Regions from separate parts of the Homo sapiens genome. Here regions 1, 2 and 4 are each linked to region 3. The links are contacts of gene promoters, found by promoter capture Hi-C in blood cells and fetal thymus (Javierre and others, 2016). All regions are on one chromosome and are shown on one strand. Each heading gives the region's core, a stretch centred on a gene start or on the middle of the fragment in contact. The rest is flanking DNA. Distances are from core to core; before and after follow the strand shown.

Region 1 (2,911 bases), core at 388-2,887, 560 kb before region 3:
TGTCACCCAGGCTGGAGCGCAGTAGTGTGATCTCGGCTCACTGCAAGCTCCGCCTCCCGGGTTCCCACCATTCTCCTGCCTCAGCCTCCTGAGTAGCTGGGACTACAGGTGCCTGCCACCACGCCCAGCTAATTTTTTTTTTTTTTTGTATTTTTAGCAGAGATGGGGTTTCACCGTGTTAGCCAGGATGGTCTCGATCTCCTGACCTTGTGATCCATCTGCCTGGGCCTCCCAAAGTGCTGGGATTACAGGCGTGAGCCACCGTGCCCAGCCCACTGTATTCTTTAAAGCTTTTTTGTATATTTGATATAAAACCTTTATATACTTTGTATATATGTGTACATACACAGACACTTTCTCTTTTTGGATGTACAAATACCCTGCTAACTACAAGGCAATCTTGCCAAAAAACTCAAACATGAATTTATGGGAAAGAGAAGGGGTTATGTAAAACTACACCATAGGGATGCATTCAGCAAAACCCACACTATGGGAACCACTAAAGACAAACAATCCAGTTCTTCTGACAAATAAATTGCAAAGGAAAAAAAAAGGTGAATGGGAAGCATATAGCTTAAAATAAACTGAAATAACCAATTGCAATGTATTACAATATTTGAATCCCAATTCAAACAAACATTGCCAAAAAATTATGCATTTTTATGAGATAGCTGGAAATTTGAACACAGACTTAATATCTCATAACACAGGAAATATTAGGGCCAGGTAGCATGGTGGCTCACTCCTATAATCCCAGCACTTTGGGAGGCTGAGGAGGGAGGATTGCCATAGCCAGGAGTTCAAGACTGCAAGGAGCTATACACTCCTGCACTAGTGCCATTACTGCACTCCAGCCTGGGTGACAGAGCGAGCCGGGTCTCAAAAAAAAAAAAAAAAAAAATTATATTAAGAATGATAATTGTGGCCAGGTGCAGTGACCCACGCCTGTAATCCCAGCACTTTAGGAGGCCAAGGTGGGTGGATCACGAGGTCAGGAATTTGAGACCAGCCTGACCAACATGGTGAAACCCCATCTCTACTAAAAACACAAAAATTAGCTGGGCATGGTGGTGTGTGCCTGTAATCCCAGCTACTCAGGAGGCTGAGGCAGAAGAATCGCTTGAACCCGGGAGGTGGAGGTTGCAGTGAGCCAAGATTGCGCCACTGCACTCTAGCCTGGCGACAGAGAGAGACTGTCTCCAAAAAAAAAAAAAAAAGAATGATAATTGTATTCTGGTTATGTATGTTTGTATTAGTTTTCTAAAGGCTCAGCTGGGCACGGTGGCTCATGTCTATAATCACGGCACTTGGGGAGGCTGAGGTGGGAGGACTGCTTGAGCCTAGGAGTTGGAGACCAGCCTAGGCAACATAGCAAGACCCTTTCTCAAAAGCAGGGGGTCGCGGGAGGCTTATCTTTTAGTGATATACAAAGAAATATTTACAGATGAACTGATAATGACATGAGGGCTTGCTTCAAACAATACAGGAAGAAAGTGGACGGGGTATGGATAGGGCAGGGTCTGGCCAGGGACTAGTGATTGTTGAGGCTGGGTGATGTGTACAAGAGGAGTGTGTATACTATTTTTTCTAGTTTTGTGTATGTTTAAAATTCTCCTTATATAAAATGTTTTAAAAAGTCATGAAAAATGTTTATTCCTGAATCCTGCTCTAACCTTAGGGGAAAGGGAGAACACTATAATATTTTCAAATTAAGATTTATGATCAATTTGAATACTATTTCTAAAACTTGTCTTAGTGATGAGAATCTTTTAAAAAGTTTATCCAAATTTTAAAAAATTCTAACGTTATGAATTGCTCTGTAAGTAGAGAGGCACAGAGGGTGTATGGGGGTGTCAGGGAGCCTACATTTCCTGATTCTCAAGTCAGTCTCCTCAGGAGAGCACATCTTCCACCAAATAATAAGAATATCACAGAAATATAAGGAAGAAACTTATTAAATAGGAATTATAAAAATTAAGAGAAATAAGGCTCAGCACACCGGAACTATAAAGAATGTCATAATGGCACCCATTCTTATGAGTCTAAAAGTAGGAAATGAGTGAAATAGTCACTGGAGCCCATTTAGCTCATATTTAAGTTTCCTACACAAAATAAAGTTATTAAGCTATAATTAATACGTATTTATAAGACATGTTATACTTTTAATTAAAAGTTTTTCCTTGTTAATCTTCACTGATAAAATTCCAGCATAGTAAAAAAGCTCTTATTTTTTTCTCTTCAAATCAATAATTACCTTTGATCCTTTCAAACAAGTATTCCTGATTTGGAGTAAGGTCTAGATACTGAACGATTGTGTTCAAAGTCGGAATGAGAGGCGCTTTAACCAGGGCAGCTTGTTTCAAGCTAGTAATACTAGCCTCTGTTAACATAAAACACAGAGAACACTGATTATTCTAAAAGTGAGTTTCCAAAAGAACTTAAAATGCTCTTCTCATGTGTTCATACAGCTGGTTCCTCACTACCTTCAGGTCTTCATACAAGTCAATGACGTCTCCCCTGACGACCCTACCTCAAATTTCACCCCTCCTCTCTAAACATTAATAACATTACCCTCCTGTGCTTTTTTCCTCCTTAGCACTAACCACTGTCCAATGTACTTTTTTTCTTCTTCTCTTTTTGTTTTTTGAGACAGTGTCTTGCTCTGTCACCCACGCTGGAGTATAGCGGCACAATCACCACTCACTGCAGCCTCAATCGAATGGGCTCAAGCAATCCTCCTCCCACCTCAGCCTCCTAAGCAGCTGGGACTACAGGCACATGCCACCACACCTGGTTCACTTTTTTTCTTTTTTTCTATTTAGTAGAGACAAGGTCTCACTATATTGCCTAGGCTGGTCTCAAACTCCTGGGTTCAAGCAATCCACCAACGCTGGACTCCCCAAGTGTTGAG
Region 2 (2,700 bases), core at 84-2,583, 570 kb before region 3:
ATTATAGGTGTTTGCCACCACTGCACCTGGCCCAAATGTCACCTTTTTAATGAAGTCTCTCCTGTCAGCTTCCCACCGAGCAGTACTTTCTCTCCCTTTGACCTATACAATTTAATTTGCACCACAATATTTTTTCTGGAGTTTTTCAATTACAAAAGCAATATAACATTGAAAAATACTTCAAAAAAAAAGAAAAGAGAAGAAAACGTAAGGACAATCATGCATATTCCCACTTCAACAAGTGAGTTCACATTTGGATATTCTCTTCTAGTCCTTGGTGATATGCATGCATATTTTTACATAATTGTAATCACAGTAGACATACAACTTTGATTTGTTTTCACTTCTATCCAACATTTCCCCATCTTTCCAAATAGTCTTTTCAGAGCTGCAGAGAGTTTTAAAAAGAGGTCAAAATAAAAATCCTTAAGTGATAACATCTCAAGATCGTATCTCCTAGAGTTTACATATAATTTATTATTATTTTTTGAGACGGAGTTTCACTCTTGTTGTCCAGGCTGGAGTGTAATGGTGCGATCTTGGCTCACTGCAACCTCTGCCTCCTGGGTTCAAGCGATTCTCCTGCCTCAGCTTCCCGAGTAGCTGGGATTAGAGGCGTGCACTACCACACTCGGCTAATTTTTGTATTTTTAGTAGAGATGGGGTTTCACCATATTAGCCAGGCTGGTCTCGAACTCCTGACCTCAGGTGATCCACCCGCCTTGGCCTCCCAAAGTGCTGGGATTACAGGTGTGAGCCACCCTGCCTGGTCTACATAGAATTTATTAAACCATCTTATTACTGGACATTTGGATGGGTTTTATTTTTAGCTATCATAGACTGGAAGCTATTTGAAAGAAAGAAGGATAGATCTTACGTTTTCTTTGTATTCCTAGCATCTGGCAAAATACTTCAATCAGTATTTATTGGATTGACTGGGTGTGGTGGCAGGCGCCTGTAATCCCAGCTATTCCGGAGGCTGAGACACGAGAATCACTTGAACCGAGGAGGCAGAAGTTGTAGTGAGCAGAAATTGTGCCACTGCACTCCAGTCTGGGCAACAGAGCGAGACTCTGTCTCAAAAAAAAAAAATTATTGGATGTATGGGTAAATAAATGAATAAGCACTCACGACGGACACCTTTAGGCATAACTATTTTTTTCTGTTGAATATTTTCCTAAGGTAAATTTTCCTGAGGTCAATGAGACAAAGAGCATTAATTTTTTTTGGCACTGTACATTATGGCAGATTGTATTTTCCAAAAATGGTCACACCAATAAATGTTCCATCTGACGTGCTGTAATGTGGCACATTCCTCCATTGAGTGGTAGGGGTCTGTGTTCCTTCCCCTTGACACTGAGCAGTTCTTTGTAGCTGCCTTGACCAACAGAATGCAGTGAAGAAACATGGTACTTCCAAAGCTAAGTTATAAATAAAAGGCAATATGCTTCTGCCTCTCTCTCTCTCACTTTCTCATGACACTGGCCCTAGGAACTCAGCCACCATGTTATGAGGAAGCCCAGGCCCTGTGTGGAGGCCAAGCGTGGGTGTTCTGCCAGTATCTCCAGTTAGGCTCCTAGTCAGTAGCTAGCATCAACTGCCAGACATGTAAACCTGCAGACATTGTGGAGCTGACAGACAGGAGCTGTCCCCACTGAGTCCTGTCTGAATTTCTGGTCCAGGGAGAGAGGTACTAAATGGTTATTGTGGTTTTGGGGTGCTTTGTTTAAAGAATTCACGCAGACCATTCAACTGGAAGCAGAGTGTCATACGGAATTTAATTTTGAGATGGAAGCCACGTAACACCTTCTCAAACCGCCAGGTTTGCGGCCTGGCAGCTTAGGTTCAGATTTCCGTCTGCCAAGTCTTTCCCGAGTCAGGGGACTCCTCAGGCTGTACCGTGGATGACACTCCTCCCCACTAGGAACACAAGGGGCCTTTCTTCGGAGGTGGAGCTCATTAAGCTGGTGCCTGTATTCTGGGCCAAAACTATCACAGAGCTGCCTGATTCCAGTCTCCACACCATGTGTTTGAGAAAGAATCATGCCTGGCTGCTGCTCCTGAGAAAACAAGTTTTGCCCCCAGTGGAGCTGATCACCACCTTCTAACTTTCCTCCTATGGGATGCAGTGCATGAAAGCAGAGTCTGATTCGGGATTGTTATTTTTTCCTTCAAGTTTAGAAATGGGAAAGGAAGGAGACTGTGTTTTCTTGGTACACCAGAAAGCCCAGCCTTCAGGCTACAAGGGTGCTACTGTCTATGACGGGGCAATGAATGGCCAGGTCTCGGGAAGGGAAGGACAGAGGGAGCAGGAGGCAGACAAAGCTGGGCTAGCACAGTTGGGGTGGGTGGGTGTCAAGGCCTTGAAGATCTGTAGCTCAGTGTGATCCAAGGACGAGACAGTTGCTTTACAGTGCCAAAGGGGCCACTTCCTACTTTTATATGAATTTGCTCTTTTTTCCTTCACCTAAAAGCAGTCCATTCATTATTTTCACTTTGAGCTTCTCAATTACCTCTAGGTATGAAGAGTATCTTATCACTTATTATTTTTTTTAGAGACAGGGTCTCACTATGTTGCCCAGGCTGGTCTCCAACACCTGAGCTCAAGTGATCCTCCTGCCTCAGCCTCCCAAAGTGCTGGGATTACAGGCGTGAACCACCACATCCAGCCCATTTTATTTTATCAGAAATCAGTGTAGG
Region 3 (2,700 bases), core at 75-2,574:
TTTTCCGGCCCCCAGTACCTCCCCAGAGTCCACATGTCTGCCTGGACCCACCCTCAGAGCAGAGGAACCAGTCTGTGCCTTGGTGTAATGACTCTGGGAAAGAAGGATGGGCAGAGAGAAAGCAGGGACAACGGCCTGGGGGATCATCCTTGAGGGTAAGACTGACAGCAATGACTGTCCTACAGGCAGGTGGTGAAGCTGGGCGCCGGGCCGGGACCGGAGCCGGAGGCGGAGCTTTCCACCTCGCTGGTGAGTGGCGGGTCGATGCGGGGAGTTCGACGACGTCCCCGGTACTCGATCATATCTGGATGATAGGTTGGGTGGCGGCGAGCATGCTTGGTCAGGTGGTCGCTCCGGGAGAACTGCTTGGGGCAGAGGGGGCAGGAGAAGCGCTTCTCGCCCGTGTGCGTCCTGTAGTGGCGGGCCAGCTCGTCGGAACGCGTAAACTTCTTGTCGCAGTCGAGCCAGTCGCAGGAGAAAGGGCGCTCACCCGTGTGGGTGCGCTGGTGGGACTTGAGGTGCGACGACTTGTAATAGGCTTTGGTGCAGCCCGGGAAGGGGCATTGGTGGCGCTTGGCAGCAGGTGTGACAGACCTCCTCCGGGGCGCCTGATCCGCGGCGGGGGCGGGGCCTGCCCCTAGGGCCCCTCCAGAGAACCCACCAGAGGCTGCTGGTGCGCCCGGGGCAGCAGGCGCGCTTGGGACGGCGGGCGCATCGGAGGAGCTCTCGGGAGCGCAGACCGCCGCGGCGCCGGAGGCGGGAGCCAGCTCGGAGCACGGGGTCTGGACGGAGCACGGGATCGGGTCGGAGAAGCCGGACGAGGCGCGTGGAGCTTCCCCCGAGTTCTCCCAGGAGCCCTCGCCAGAGCTGCCGCGCAAGTCCGCCCAGACGCTTGCAGCCAGCAGGTGGGGCGCGGCGCCGCCCGCGCCGGGGCTGGGGGCGGGGACCTGCGGGAGCTGGGGGACCGACGCGGGCCCCGGTGGCCCCGGACCCGGCAGAGCGGACTCCGGCGGCGCCGCACCCACCTCCGAGCCAGCGGCTCCACCCGCGCCCTCGGGGTCCGGCGGGCGGCGGTGAACCACGGCGCCCGCGGACATGGACACCAGGCACTCGGCGGCGAAGTAGTCCAGGCACGCCACGGCGGCCGACATGCTGGGACCGCCCGGCCGCCGGCGAGCGCCGTCCGAACGCGGCCGGCCGCGGGCGACGGAGTTCCCGGGAGCGTCCGTCCCGCAGCCTCGGAGCGAGAAGCAGGAGGCCGGGTGCTCGCCGCCTGCCGCCTGCTGCCGCCGCCGCCGCCGCAGCCGCCGCTGCCGCCGCCGCCCGCGCGGAGCCCGCCCCGCCTGACGCGCCCCTGACGCACCGGAGCCCGCGGGGGCGGCAGAGACCCGCCCCGGCCCGCAGGACACCCCCTCGGAACGCGCGGCCCCCGGCTAAGTCATGTTTAACAGCCTCAGAAATTATCTTGTCTCCGCGTTCTTTCTTCTGCCGGCGAGCCAGGTAATGGTAACAGAGCGAAACTCCCCAGTCGGAACTTCTGGGTTGCAGCAGCCTCGCCCCCCCTCCCCGCAGCCCGCCGCCCGCTGGTCCGTCGCCAGCTGGGTGTCCCGCGGAGTCCCAGAAAGTTTTTTTTTTTTTTAAGGAAAAAAATTGCTAATACCTGACATGTCTTTCGGTTCATAATTGCGATTGTTAGCGAAGTGGTCTCGAATTCCATTTCACTCCCCGTTCGCCGCTCTCAGACTAAATTGCAAATATCCCCAAGTCTGTAGCAAAAAAAGTTTTCTCATTGAGCAGGTCAACTGTGAACCCGGGGCCGGGAGCAGTTCCCTAAATAGATCCGCTACGTAGCCATTAATTAATAGCATCTCGAACCAGAAACAGTTTTAACCTTGGAAAAGCAAAGAATCCTCTCCCGGTTGAAATTGAAACTTAAAATCCTTTGAGTAACGATTTAACTATTCAGCCAACGAAAGAAAAATGCATGTTTAAACTGCATTAACCTGTCACTGGCATCCAAACAAATTTAAACGCTGAGATATAAATTATAGTCTAGCGGCGAGATAAACACATTAAAATGGACTCCCACCATTTTAATAATAGAAAGTCACGTTTCCAATTAGGCATTATCTTGTAATTTGCTTTTGACGAAAGTTAAATGTAAGGAAATGCAGCACATGATATAGAATGCTCATATGGTGTTTTGTGATTGTGGAGGTTTGCCTTTTTTATAATCAAATGCATGTACGGTTTCTTTTACGTGTCTTCATTGCTCTCATTTTTTCCCTCGTTTTTCTTTTTAAAAATGTAAAACTACATAGAAAAACAAACAGGATAATTTCTAAAAATAGTCATATCTTAGTTTTTGATGTATACAAGCTTTTATATGAGTGAATTGTGTGCATTTTATTTGTAGTTCTTCAGTACTTTTTCTTTTGAAAATTAATACGTATGTATCAAGAATAACATACGTTCATGTATTTACTGCCTAGGGTAATCAAATGTGAAATTTTTGTTATAGTTGTTTCATGTTTTTATTTATATTAAACATTACAGATAGAGTTGAATGTCACTTTGTTTCCCTCCCCAGTTCCATTCACCTTTCTCCCTCTTCACTTTTCTAGGTAATTAGTATTATAAAGTGGCTATTTAATCTGCATTTGTTTTGATACCCGTATTACCTAATTATACATGTAAATA
Region 4 (2,770 bases), core at 162-2,661, 520 kb before region 3:
TCCCACTTTATCAGGACTGTGATGCTTCCAACATATTATGAGTAACCAAGCTCTTTTTTTTTTTTCTTGAGATGGAGTCTTGCTCTGTCACCCAGGCTGGAGTGAAGTGGTGCAATCTTGGCTCACTACAACCTCCGCCTCCCGGATTCAAGTGACTCTCCTGCCTCAGCCTCCCTTGTAGCTGGGACCACAGGCGCAAGCCACCACGCTCTGCTAACTTCTGTATTTTTAGTACAGATGGGGTTTCACCATGTTGGCCAGGCTGGTCTCAAACTCCTGACCTCAAGTAGTCTGCCCGCTTTGGCCTCCCAAAGTGCTGGGATTACAGGCATGAGCCACCGCGCCCAGCCGTAACCAAGCTCTTATAATTTGCTGACATGATATCCTTGCTGGCCATTAATACCAGGCTGATGATTAAGAAAACCACCATCATTTAGCATTATAGCCATAGGCCTGGGCTGGCAGTGGTAAGACTTAATGCTCTATGAGCTCGGATGGGGTGGAGAAGGTTTGTTATGTCCATGCCAGCTGGATTCCATTCTAATCAAAGACTCTTTGATAACCACCACCTCCTGGTGAAGAACTTTCATCTAAAGTCTAAATGCTTCTTAAGGTAAATACTTTGCCAAAAGGAGATTTAGAATAATGATAGCTTATATGTGTCTTAGACTCCCTAGCTAAGTATATTGAATTTGGCCTGGCAAGCAAAGCTACTTTAGAAAATTACCAAAAAAATTTCATCATGAATTAAGAGGTCTAAGCTATTTTTTTTATTTTTATTTTTTGAGACGGAGTCTCGCCCTGTTGCCCAGGCTGGAGTGCAATGGCACGATCTTGGCTCACTGCAACCTCAGCCTCCTGGGTTCCAGTGATTCTCCTGCCTCAGCCTCCTGAGTAGCTGGGATTATAGGCGTGCATCTCCACGCGCAGCTAATTTTTGTATTTTTAGTAGAGATGGAGTTTCACCATGTTGGCCAGGCTGGTGTCGAACTCCTGACCTCGTGATCCACCCGCCTCGGCCTCCCAAAGTGCTGGCATTACAGGCGTGAGCCACCACGCCTGGCCCAGTCTAAGCTATTTTTTCTGCTCCCTTGCTTGCATCAGCTCTTGGGAGTCATACAGCCTTGAGCTTCCAGGACCTCAAGAGAGCATGTGGTCCAGCCTTCTGTTTGTAGGCAAGTAAGTTATCATTATCCCTCCCCCACTCATTTTTTTATTGATAAGCCCCAAGTAAATTAAGTGACTTGTCCAATGTCACAAAAGTGTTAGTGACAGAAGGGGAATATACCCAGATTTCCTGTCAAATTATTTGTTTGCTTCAAAGCATAGTTTGAAATGTCCACTTAGATCTACTCAGTCCTGATTAAAACCTTAATTATTTTAGAGGTTTCGTTTTTCACTTTGTACCCTTGTGGCAGCTACAATCAGCTAGACTGCTTCTTCTGAAGGGTCCCAGATTTGAAATCTGAGAACAATATGAGAGCTAGTAAAGGAGGATGGAATTTTTCCTTCACTTTGAACTTCTTCATTTTCTCTGCTAAACTATGAGGCTTTATTTACAAACCTTGAAGTAATGGTAAAAGCACGATGGAAATGTGGTGGTAATTATCCTCCAACATGAAGCACGCTGATTTCCTCTGAATTTGCCACTTTTTAAAGTGGCATTTACCCTTTTGCTTTCAGACTATAAATACTATATTTAGTTTATATTTTTATTTTGTGTTTATTCAGATTGCTAGTGCTGGTATTTTTCTGGACAATGGTAATCCAAACACCTTATTTTGCTTATGTGGAAACTGAGCTTAAGAGGTGTTAAGTGGCTTGGAAAAATCAAGAGTTGTTAGTGGCAGAAAGAGAGCCACGGCCCACATTTTCTACTCTGCCCCTCAGGGCAGGCACTCCTGCTGTTTTCACTCACTGAGTCACAAAGACAGTTAATAAAATGCTTTTCGTAACCACAGTTCATATGATCCCACTTAGTTTAATGCAAAATCTTTCTTTTGATTTTGTGGCTATGTTTTGATTTGACATCAAATGTGAGAGCTTTCTGTGGAAATGATATAAGCCTAATAAGTGTTTTTAAATACCTTCTCCTGTCTATTACAAAAGTACACATTATATAGAAAATGTGGAAATTATAGGGCAGAAGACAAAATAAAATAAAAATCACTCCAGATTATGTAGAAATAACCAACTACTGTTAACTTTTAGGTTTATAAACTTCCAATTATTTTGATTTTCTTTACATATATTAAATTTATTTTTTTCCTTTTCTATAACCTAAGTGATACATATTAAATTTAAAATATTTAAGCCTCTTCCAAAAGCATTTTTTATAAAGTGGTATCTTTTTTTTTTTTTTTTTGAGACAGAGTCTCGCTGTCACCCAAGCTGGAGTGCAGTGGTGCAATCTCTGCTCACTGCAAGCTCCGCCTCTCAGGTTCACACCATTCTCCTGCCTCAGCCTCCTGAGTAGCTGGGACTACAGGCACCCACCACCACACCCGGCTAATTTTTTTTGTATTTTAAGTAGAGACAGGGTTTCACCGTGTTAGCCAGGATGGTCTCGATCTCCTGACCTTGTGATCTGCCCGCCTCAGCCTCCCAAAGTGCTGGGATTACAGGCATGAGCCACCGTGTCTGGCCAGAAAGTGGTATCTTAAAAGTGAACTCCGCTTTCAAGATTTTTGGAGAATGATTGCTGTAACCCAGAAAACAAAAAGGCACCTCATTAAAGATGCTTGCCTACCATTGCAGAGATCAGATATTA

What was found. Contacts are between HindIII fragments. The CHiCAGO score rates a contact against its expected background, and 5 or more counts as called.
Region 1: a contact is called between a fragment that was not itself captured here and the fragment with the promoter of KLF14 in region 3, in 9 of 17 cell types (megakaryocytes, erythroblasts, total CD8 T cells and 6 more). The highest score is 9.8, in megakaryocytes.
Region 2: a fragment that was not itself captured here is called in contact with the fragment with the promoter of KLF14 in region 3 in 2 of 17 cell types (megakaryocytes and erythroblasts); the score reaches 6.7 in megakaryocytes.
Region 4: a fragment that was not itself captured here is called in contact with the fragment with the promoter of KLF14 in region 3 in 15 of 17 cell types (megakaryocytes, endothelial precursors, M1 macrophages and 12 more); the score reaches 17.3 in megakaryocytes.

What each region holds. Positions count from the first base shown.
Region 1 is chr7:130,176,148-130,179,058 of GRCh38, forward strand. TMEM209 (transmembrane protein 209) reads right to left here. Exons shown (of 15, transcript NM_032842.4): 10 at 2,255-2,380. Among named protein-coding and RNA genes, the nearest start is that of TMEM209, 28 kb to the right of the region's middle. The HindIII fragment of the contact is 2,699 bases long and covers 289-2,911 here.
Region 2 is chr7:130,158,681-130,161,380 of GRCh38, forward strand. No RefSeq gene overlaps it. Among named protein-coding and RNA genes, the nearest start is that of LINC03008, 18 kb to the left of the region's middle. The HindIII fragment of the contact is 9,270 bases long and covers 1-2,700 here.
Region 3 is chr7:130,732,883-130,735,582 of GRCh38, forward strand. It overlaps KLF14 (KLF transcription factor 14), which reads right to left and starts at 1,325. Exons shown (of 1, transcript NM_138693.4): 1 at 1-1,325. The coding sequence starts at 1,151. The coding sequence ends at 180. LOC105375508 (a long non-coding RNA gene) reads left to right here and starts at 1,382. Exons shown (of 4, transcript XR_927978.3): 1 at 1,382-1,500. RefSeq lists an enhancer at 396-933 and silencers at 829-988, 1,059-1,138. The HindIII fragment of the contact is 4,510 bases long and covers 1-2,377 here.
Region 4 is chr7:130,208,813-130,211,582 of GRCh38, forward strand. The region is part of intron 1 of SSMEM1 (serine rich single-pass membrane protein 1); the gene reads left to right. Among named protein-coding and RNA genes, the nearest start is that of SSMEM1, 2.3 kb to the left of the region's middle. The HindIII fragment of the contact is 3,567 bases long and covers 1-2,770 here.